Regions from separate parts of the Homo sapiens genome. Here region 1 is linked to region 2. Evidence: promoter capture Hi-C in 16 types of primary human blood cells and fetal thymus (Javierre and others, 2016). All regions are on one chromosome and are shown on one strand. Each heading gives the region's core, a stretch centred on a gene start or on the middle of the fragment in contact. The rest is flanking DNA. Distances are from core to core; before and after follow the strand shown.

The links. The method cuts DNA at HindIII sites, captures the fragments that hold promoters and counts their contacts. A CHiCAGO score of 5 or more calls a contact.
Region 1: a contact is called between a fragment that was not itself captured here and the fragment with the promoter of ACSL4 in region 2, in 1 of 17 cell types (activated CD4 T cells). The highest score is 5.2, in activated CD4 T cells.

Annotation. Positions count from the first base shown.
Region 1 is chrX:110,286,236-110,291,166 of GRCh38, reverse strand. All of the region lies in intron 1 of AMMECR1 (AMMECR nuclear protein 1), which reads left to right. Among named protein-coding and RNA genes, the nearest start is that of AMMECR1, 29 kb to the left of the region's middle. The HindIII fragment of the contact is 6,097 bases long and covers 1-4,931 here.
Region 2 is chrX:109,730,466-109,735,152 of GRCh38, reverse strand. It overlaps ACSL4 (acyl-CoA synthetase long chain family member 4), which reads left to right and starts at 1,896. Exons shown (of 16, transcript NM_001318510.2): 1 at 1,896-2,014. LOC105373311 (a long non-coding RNA gene) reads right to left here and starts at 2,642. Exons shown (of 1, transcript NR_158569.1): 1 at 195-2,642. RefSeq lists silencers at 1,634-1,943, 2,041-2,161 and enhancers at 2,284-2,423, 2,484-2,533. The HindIII fragment of the contact is 5,191 bases long and covers 1-3,538 here.

The DNA of each region.
Region 1 (4,931 bases), core at 1,777-4,276, 550 kb before region 2:
TGTCTTCATCTTTATATTTTCTTTCCCTTCTCTTCCCCACTCCACTATTATCAATCTACATAGAACATCATTTTTTATAAACGTGCTGAGTGAATTTTTGTTTAAAATTTTTCTTAAGGTGAGGAAGTTAAGAGCAGTGAATTTTTAAATCTGCCTCTCAATACTTCAAGAGGTGTCATGAAATTTTTAAACCAAAATTATTTTCAATTAAAGTACCCACACACTCCACACTCATAGGAGAGAAAAAGAGTGTGTTATTAAGTCAACCAACTCATAATGGGGTGCTACAGTTTCAAAAACATTAATAAGCATTGTAGTATTGAAGAAAACGGGGTAGTAGAACTTGTGACATTGCAAGCAGGGAAGTATTTTATATGTATTGTACACTCATGTTCAATAAGTAGAATTCTGAGAAGTTGCATAAGTCTTGTGCCCTAAAAATTCCTGATTTCATCAGATCTTAACTTCTGTATGCCATTGATTTAGGAGGGAAATTGTCCATTTTTAACACTGGCCTTTTCATTACTGTTAAGCACCAGAAATATTTTATAAAATTTTAATAATATTAAATATTTCATTAAAACTTACATCATTGGACTCATATGTGGTACATATCAGGACTGCTACAAACACACAAGAATGGAAATGTACTTTTTAAAAAAAATGTGTTTTCTATTACATAGACGTTATACTAGCAATGTAACTAAAATTAGCAGAGTAATCATACAGCCTAATCAGCACATAAATCTTATACAAGTGACAAGTTAAAATAGATAATAGTAGTTGCAAAAGTAGCTTGAGATCAATATCGGGTGGTTATGTTTGCTTGTATATACTATTTAAGGAGGTAAGCATTGGGGAAGTTGGGCTGAATAAAACGGGGGAGGCAAGGGTGAGAAATGCTCTTTAGATCTAATGTTCACAGTGGATCATCAAGTGAGAATTGCTTTGCTAGCAACACATAAATATTTTTTCATTATAGGGGATGACTGTTACTGGGAAAGCATTGGAGTAAATATTTGTTTTCCTTGATTATTTGCTGTAAATAATTTTTTGTAACCAAATCAACAAAGTACTGTGAGTTCACTATAGGATATTACATTGTAATATAGAAGTTCCTGTTTTCCTGATGTTAACTATAATGGGTTTCTACCTGTATTCCAGGAAATAGAGCAAGTTGGGTTGATTCCAGTATGTTTTATTTTTCAGCTTCAGTGCTAAAATCAGATTGTGTGCAACTCTGAATCATGGTTCTATAAATTCTTGGCTATACTAAGTAAATTACAGTATATCTTCCAGTACAATTATAAGAATGCTGTAACATGCAGGATGTTTTCTTGAGCGTTTTCATGATTAAAGATTAATTTCTTCCTGAATTTGGCTTGATAGATTTGTATTGAAGAGCACTGTCAACTACCATTTGAGTGCCATCTGTGTATTTGACAGTATACTGTGGACTAATAGGAATTTAACGAATAAAATAGTGCATTTTTGGTTTGGCAGGATTTCTTACAGAGATAAATAGGCTGGGCACATTTGCCTTGTAGGTATGTGTGTTTATGTACATATATGTTTCATATCAACGTTGGCCTGTAAACTTCCAGTATAAATAGAATAATTTACCAACTTGTTCTTCCACTGGGACATAATGTAAGTAAACTATCTTTTCTAGCTAACTAAGCAGGTGGCTATTTCTATGACTAGTATGTTTCAAATTTTAATATACATTGATGTAATTAAATTTTGTGTGTGTCTATGAGTATAATCATCTCTCATTATCTCTGCTTCTGTGGGGGATCCTAATGTAAATAGTGTAAAATAGTAATATCCTTGCCTCCTTTTCTTGACTTTTTCCCTCATTCTGTGAACTGGCTTTATGTGCCTTCTGTACCTTGCTCCAGTGCCTTAAGTGGTCAGAAGTGGGTGACTAAAAGAGGTAGAAATTGCCACATGTGGATAATGGGGAGTTGGGTATTTATGATAATACATGGGAATGAGGGAGACATATTAATAATTTTGAAGTTAATGGACTTATTTGTTGAGGGAAGGATTCATGGACAGTTTTGAATTATGTTTCAAATATGGATTTAGAATTTTATTTAGGGGGAGAGGACTAGACATTCTAGTCAGTGAGGATCATAAACAGAGCTGAGTAAGTAGTTTTGTTTAGAGAGCTGTTGGGAAATAAGTATATTTGAGAATTCTTGAATCAAGAGAGAGAAGAGTGGAGTGGCTTAAAATTAAAGCATCTGTTTATTCATTTTGACTTGATTTTCTAACCTATGTGGGAATGCTGTAGAAGTTATATGGTTGAATAAGTGAGGGATTAGACACATTTAAATCAGAGTCATTATTGAAGAAAATATCAGAATAGTTTAGTCCAGGGTGGACTCTAGTCTACATAAGAATTAGCTGTGAGATTAGATTTGTGAGGAAAGAATAAGTACAAACAATAGTACAGGAAAGAAATGGTATAGTTTGGCATTTAACTGAATAATGTGGGTGGTGATCTAGAGGCTCATGTTAGGCTAGCATTGTTTATCCAAAAAGAAGGGCTGTACCATTTCTAATGAATTTGGAGAGCTCTGTCAGCCATACATTGATGAAGCCCTGCAGTAATGTCTATGATTTTGCTTGCAGTTATACTTTGAAGATCTCCAGTATTCTGTCAGTTTCTGAGAGCGCACAATCTGACTCTTGAAATTCTGGTAGAGCTTGTGAGGAGAAATCAAGAGAAATTGCTGAGAACCTATTATGTGGTGTGCATCCTTCTGGATGTTTTACATACCTGCTTTGCTTCCCTGTTTCTCTACCAAATCAAATCTTCTGTAAAGATATATGAGGGTGGGTAGGTGAATGGGCATCGTGCTGAGGGAGAACTCTCCACTCTTCAAAGTTTTTGCCACCTAAAAAATGCCAAAAGCCATGGTGCTACTTCAGCTCTTTGTGAGATTTCTAGCCTGCCTTCTTCCTTTACTCTTTTTGATTTATGCTATCTGATGGCTCCAAGTCACAGATACTGAGCTAAAGTCCTTTCTGCAGTCATGGTCCTCTTTCTTGCTTCCCTGAACTACCAAACTGGCTAAGTGTCTCTCCTTTGTGTCCCATAATTCCTCATTCATAGCTATTTTCTTATCATTTACTGCTGTATATTAAATTCTATTCATGTATTTCTCTCCTTCACTTATTAGAGTATAAGCTCCTGAAGAGTGAGGATGGTCTTTTTCCTTTCTTATCCCAAGTGCATGGCAAAAATAGTAGAGAAGGTGCTTAATAATGGTTTCTTGTACTAAGTTGACCCCATCAACTGCAGTTTGGCTTCTCATCTTGTTTATCCTTGTGGGATGGCCTTGTACACTGTCTAAACCATTCTCTCTATTGCGAAAGAATGGGGCAAGGAAACTTCTTAGCTTTCTTTTTAGTCTCTTTTATTCCAGCCACTCTATGCTTTGAATACCTAGTTTTGACTTGCTTCCCGGTAACAGACTAAGTCTTTCAGGGGTATGGTATTCACAACTCTACCCTGTACTAGACAGTGTCATGTAGACTAGTAACTTGGAAGATTAAGGTATAAGAAATTGTTGAGGTCGGGTATTCTGAGCATCAGTATACACACTGATTTCTTCCCCAGAATGGTGATACTCAGGAAACCAGGGAGCCCCTGGTTACATAAGGAAGTGTGAACTGCTGCAGATAGAAATTGGAACAAGACATCCTCATTACTGTAACTCTGAGGTCTAATAGATGTCCTCCCTACAACTACAACAAGGTGGTCTGTGTTTTCCAGGATTGGAGAAGAAACCAAAACAATTTGACAGTTTTTGTCAACTAGGTCTGGAGGCACTTCCCTGAAGTAAAAAGATCATCTGATTCAACGACTCCTCCTCAGTCTCAGTCACATTAGGTGACTACACCAGTTAGTGTGTCTCTGCATTTTGGTTCTATTTGAGAAAAATGTTTCTGTATGGAAAGGTAACACAATAGTAAGAGATAGTTTATCCTTCATCCCCTCTTTTGACACCCTACTCTTGAATTCTGATAGCTGGAGTTCTTTTTCTTAAACCCACTACCTTCACAAGAAGGCAAACTGTTTAAACTCACCTATCTCTCACATGATAGTAGCTGGTCTCATAATTGACAGAATCATTGGCAGTAAGACCATTATCTCTTTTAACCAGTGGTTGAAAATTCTACTTAGTTGTCTATTGGAGCTCAAGAAACTATTAACTTATGAACGTAATTTAGTATTGAAGCACCTTGTGGGCCTCCTGGCTATCAAAGATAATCAGATACCCCAAAAGGACCCTTGAACTGGTATCAAAATTCAGTAGTAACTAATGTAGGATACTAGGGATTAGCCTCATGATTTTTTTTAACTAAGGTCTCCAGATGGCCAATGAATTTATGAAACCGGAAGGAGCTGGTGGAATGGGAGGACAGAGAAGATGACGTTAAGTAACTTTGCATACATGCTCTAATTTTTTTTTTTTTTTTTGAGACAGGGTCTCACTCTGCCACCCAGGCTGGAGGGCAGTGGCACAATCACAGCTCACTGCAGCCTCAACCTCCCAGGCTCAGGTGATCCTCCCACCTGAGCCTCCCAAGTACCTAGGACTACAGGCGCACAACACCATGCCTGGCTAATTTTTGTAAATTTTTTGTAGAGACGGGTTTTTGCTATGTTGCTCAGGGTGGTCTCAAACTCATGGGCTCAAGTGATCCGGCTGCCTGGGCCTCCCAAAGTGTTAGGATTACAGGAGTGAGCCATTACGCCCGGCCCATGCTCTAATTTTTTAATGGTCATGTGCCCATTGAGCATTCATCATTCAGGTGAGTCATAACTAGAGACTGTATAAGGGTATTGTGAAACTCTATGCAGTTCTTTAGTCATGCTGGGGTTGGGTTCTTTTAAAAACAGACCATTTCCAGAT
Region 2 (4,687 bases), core at 647-3,146:
TTTCTTGGTCTGATAAACATATCTATATGTATATCATACACACATTTGTATACCAAAAAACGGATAGTTTCAGGCTATAGTGATTTCTTTCCTTTATATCTTGTAGAGCTGGAGGAACTTCAGTAAGCTGAAGACTCTGTTCAGAGGAAATTACCTAATTGAAAATGTCTGGGCTAAGAGACCGACAATAAAGGAAACTGGCAAAAGTACTCTTTAATTACAAGTTCTTTTTCATCTTCATCCAGCACACTGATTTATGTGCTACACTGGGTTTGTATTATATCTATATTTTAATTCCACAACTAGACACTAACTTTATTGAGAACAGCGATATTCATTTCTTCAATTTCATTTGTGTTAACCCAACTGTAGGTGATAGTGCTCTGTACATCATAGTTACCCAGTGAATTACGTACCTGACATATGATTGCTTATTTCTGGTATTAAAACAAGATTTCATAAAATAAACATGACAATTAAACTCGTTGTTTGAAGTACTGAACTTTGTAGGTCAATCTTGAAAAAGGAAGCTACATGACTGTCTTAGCAATATTTATAGGTATATTATATGTAAGTGGGTGGGTTTCTTGGAAATTGAATTGGTAATATGGCTTTAGAGTAGTAACACAAAAACTATAGCTCTGTGCTCTCAGCTAACCACTTTTAGTGTCACCTGGGCTGCTTATTAAAAATTCAAATTTCTTATCCCTACCCAGATCAGAATCAAAATACCTGGGGGTTGTAGCTCCAGGTACCTACATTTCAACAAGCACCCCAGATAATTGTGATGCACACTGAAGAACTACTCTAGCTTGTAATCTCAGGTGGTAAGGCATTTTATATATACATATATATATACACACACACAAGCACAAATGGTAATTCTATGGGAAAATGGAAATCAGCAAGTGAAGTGAAATGTCAATTACCATCAGGAACAGGAAGCTAGTTCACCATTACGCATCAGGGAACTGGAAGAATTCTTGAGATTTATTTTTTTGGGTGATATATTCTTGGCAGTTTATCAGGCCTCATTTGCAATTATGGTCTGTCCCTTTTGAAGCCCTCAGATAGTTCGCTGGCATTTTAATTTTAATAGCAATTTCTTGCATCTGTTGGAACAGCATTCGTATGACCGGCTTATAAGCAATGATCAGGGCTAGTAAGATGTCACAAAGCTGCGGTGACTTTTCCTTATCAGTTGGGGGTTTTTTTGCCATGATACCATCGTGGAAATGAAAGACAACGTGAAAATCCTGCGTCCTTGTGATATTTCATCAGTGGGAGTGAGCGGGGATCTTAACGCAGTAAGAGGCAAGATAAACGGATGAGAGGCATTAGTTCAGGCTTACAGGAGCAAGATGCTTTTAGTCAAAGTGTTCAAGATAGCTCTCTTAAAGAGGAGCAGTGAAACCCAAAAATGAGTGTCTTTTGAGGGCAGCTGGAAGATGACCCGAGGGGAACTTTTATCCTGGGGTGGAGTCCTGCGAAGCAAGCCGCAGGTGAGGGCGTGGGCCAATTCTGCGCCTCACTGCTGTTAGGCGCAAGGACATCCCGAAACACACTCAACGACACCAGCAGCGAGACTGACAGAAGCGGATCGCCAGCGGGAGCAACAACTTGAGGCGAGCCGTTAGCCGCCTCGCCTTCCTCGCAGCGCCCCTCCCGCGCCCCGGGAAGCCCGTTCGGCTCCGCCTTTTCGACTGACGTCCCGGGCGAGCGGGGGCGGGCGCGTGGGTGGGCCGAGCCGTCTGCAGCCAGCGATTCGGCTGGCTCTGCCACACCACCGCGCGCCCCCGCTCCGCCCGCCCCTCCGGGCGCGTCTTTTCCGGGCTCGCGCTGAGTCCCGCCTCCGCCGGCTGTCCGGGTGCGCGCGCGCCGCTGCGGCTTTTTCTCTGGCCTCCGCCGCGCGCTCCTCCTCGTCCCAGCGCTAGCGGGCACGCGGTTCCTTTTTGCGAGCTTTCCGAGTGCCAGGCGCCGGCCGGCTGCGAAGACGCGGTGGGCCGCCCCTCCGGTGAGTATCCCTGGATGGGGAGGTTGCGGCCCCGGCACCCCTGCCCTGTCGGTACCAGGGCCCCATTTCCAGAGGGGGACTGGCGTACCTCACCTGAGCCGGGAGGAGGTTGGGTGGGCATTCCAGCTCCTGGAGTCGGCTCGCTTTTTTCCTTGAGCCAGGGCTATCTATCCGCTCGCCTCCGCTGGGGCCGGGAAGATTCCCGAGGTCACTGTATCTGCTCCTGTGATGGACTCTGGGGTCCTCGGAACCCCAGCCTGCCTCTTCCTGCCGCTCACCGCATCCCGAGGGCCAGAAGTCATCTTCCTGATCGGGGTACTAGGCTTTGCCACGGCCCTTTCCGGAGGAGACCATGAAGTGCTTGCTAGACCTCCAAACGACCTTTAGGGTGCCCCTAAACCTCAACTCCATTTTGTCCCCTCCCAGTCGCTCTGTAACTGAGGGCTAGGGAGCCTCTCTAGCCCTAGAGGCATCCGCCCTCTCGAATTTGAGGGATGCCGTCGCTTCCGATATCTTCCTTGCTTCCGATATCTTCCTAGCTTCCGTAGGCTTAGGTTTGTTAGAAAACAGCTGGATCCTGGCGAAGCGTGCTTTCCTTCCTTCCCCCACCCCCGTTCTTTCTGTCTACATCCCTGCCTTCAGTGGGTGCTATATATTTAGTATGAGCTTTATTCACTTCCTCTTCCTCTCGTTTGAGTGCCTGAAAGAACTGTGGCTGATGTCTATAGACATAGAAAAATCTAGGAGAATATGATTCATTGTCTAACCCCATCAAGGGGTTACATATTTTAAATAAGACGTCATTTCTCCTCTTCACTCCAGCATCTCCTCCTTCAAAGGCATTTTTCACCCTCTTGAAATTAATACGCTCTATTCGCTCTTTTCACCTAAAAAAAGGTCAATCGTCGCTCTGAGAAACAACAGTGAGATGCAAAATAAGGGTAAAATGGCATTGAAATGAATCCCTTTGAAAAAGTAAGCGGTTTGCTTTATCAGTTAATGGTCTCATCAGCGCTTCAGTTTCCTCTTCTGCAAAAATCAGTCTGTTGAACTAGAGCATATCAAAGGTTCCTTCTAGTGTTTTGATTCTAGGACCTCTAAATTCATGCAGGCTGCATAATGCAAATTTAACCTGATTAAAGCCTTATTTCTCATAGTCGCTTGTCACCTTAGTTTTTCTTTTATTTTGTCTCTAACAAGAAAGACTTTTAAATGTTCTTGATACGTAAGGCAGCAGGTGGAGATTCAATGATGGTACTGCCATTGAGCATATCGGTCAAGATTTTAACAGTGTAAGGCCTCTTCCTTAAATTGTAAAATAGCTCATCTTTTGATTGAAACTGCTAAAGTGTAAGACATGTAAGACTCCTGTTAGAATTAACACTCTCTGCCATTTAGGTGGGGGATGAAACATTAAACTGTTAGTATACTTGTACCTTAGAATAAAGTACCTTATTGTCCTGCTATAAGAAATAATTTGACAACTAAAAATCCATGGAAGGTGTAATACAGCAATTGAAAGCTTGAGTAAATTCAATTTTGTGGGTTTTTTTTTTTTTTTGGAAAACCCCCTATTTAAAAACACAAGTGATTTAGATTAAGATATTTCTTTCAGTATTTTTGGTAGGGGTGAGATGGGTGAAGAAAGAAGAGTCTTGTTCAATTCAGACAAGAGAAATGAATTGGAACTCTGGAGAGGCTCAGGTTCTAGACCCAACTCTAGATATATATTTAACCTTGAACAAGTCACTTCACCTCTCTTAGTTTTTGCATCTGTAAAATAAGTGTCTTTATGGTTGTTGAAATGATCCACAAGTCCCCCAATTTGAATGATATATTCTTATAATGAATATATATGACAAATATATATATACACACGTGTATATATAGGTATACACACACACATATAATGCAATTTGCGTTAAGGCTGTTATAAATCCTGTTATACCAGTTGACTAGAATGTTTTTCTCAAAGGTTTGTGTATAGTGGTTTCAATTTAGGTATACTTAGTTCTTAATCCTGATTAAATAAATAATTATATGTGAAAATCTATAAACTCAGAAGCATTTTACAAATGTTGGGTATTATGTTAATTTCTGCTTGCAAGTGAAATGTGTGTTATACCGCACTATTTTTTAAATGTCCATGGCTTTTAGAAATTTATAAGGGAATGGCTGGGTGTGGTGGCTCACGCCTGTAATCCTAGCACTTTGGGAGGCCGAGGCCGGCGGATCATGAGGTCAGGAGATCGAGACCATCCTGGCTAATACGGTGGAACCCCGTCTCTACTAAAAATACAAAAAATTAGCCAGGCGTGGTGGTGGGTGACTGTAGTCCCAGCTACTTGGGAGGCTGAGGCAGAAGAATGGCGTGAACCCGGAAGGTGGAGCTTGCAGTGAGCCGAGATCGCGCCACCGCACTCACATACTGCCTTACAACTGTAATTGGCTAGGAACTTTAAAATAATATGTGGGCATCTCATTCATTTATTAATTCATTCAACTATCTTCTTCCTTCATCTGTCACGTATGTCAGGCCCTCAGGACATGATGGTTAAGACAAACCCTACTCTATGAGTTTATACTTTGGGCTGATGGAGATGGTTGGGGGGCATGTGGAGAGACAGATGTACATCCAGTTTATTTTTGTTAAAAACAACAACAGTCAAATCA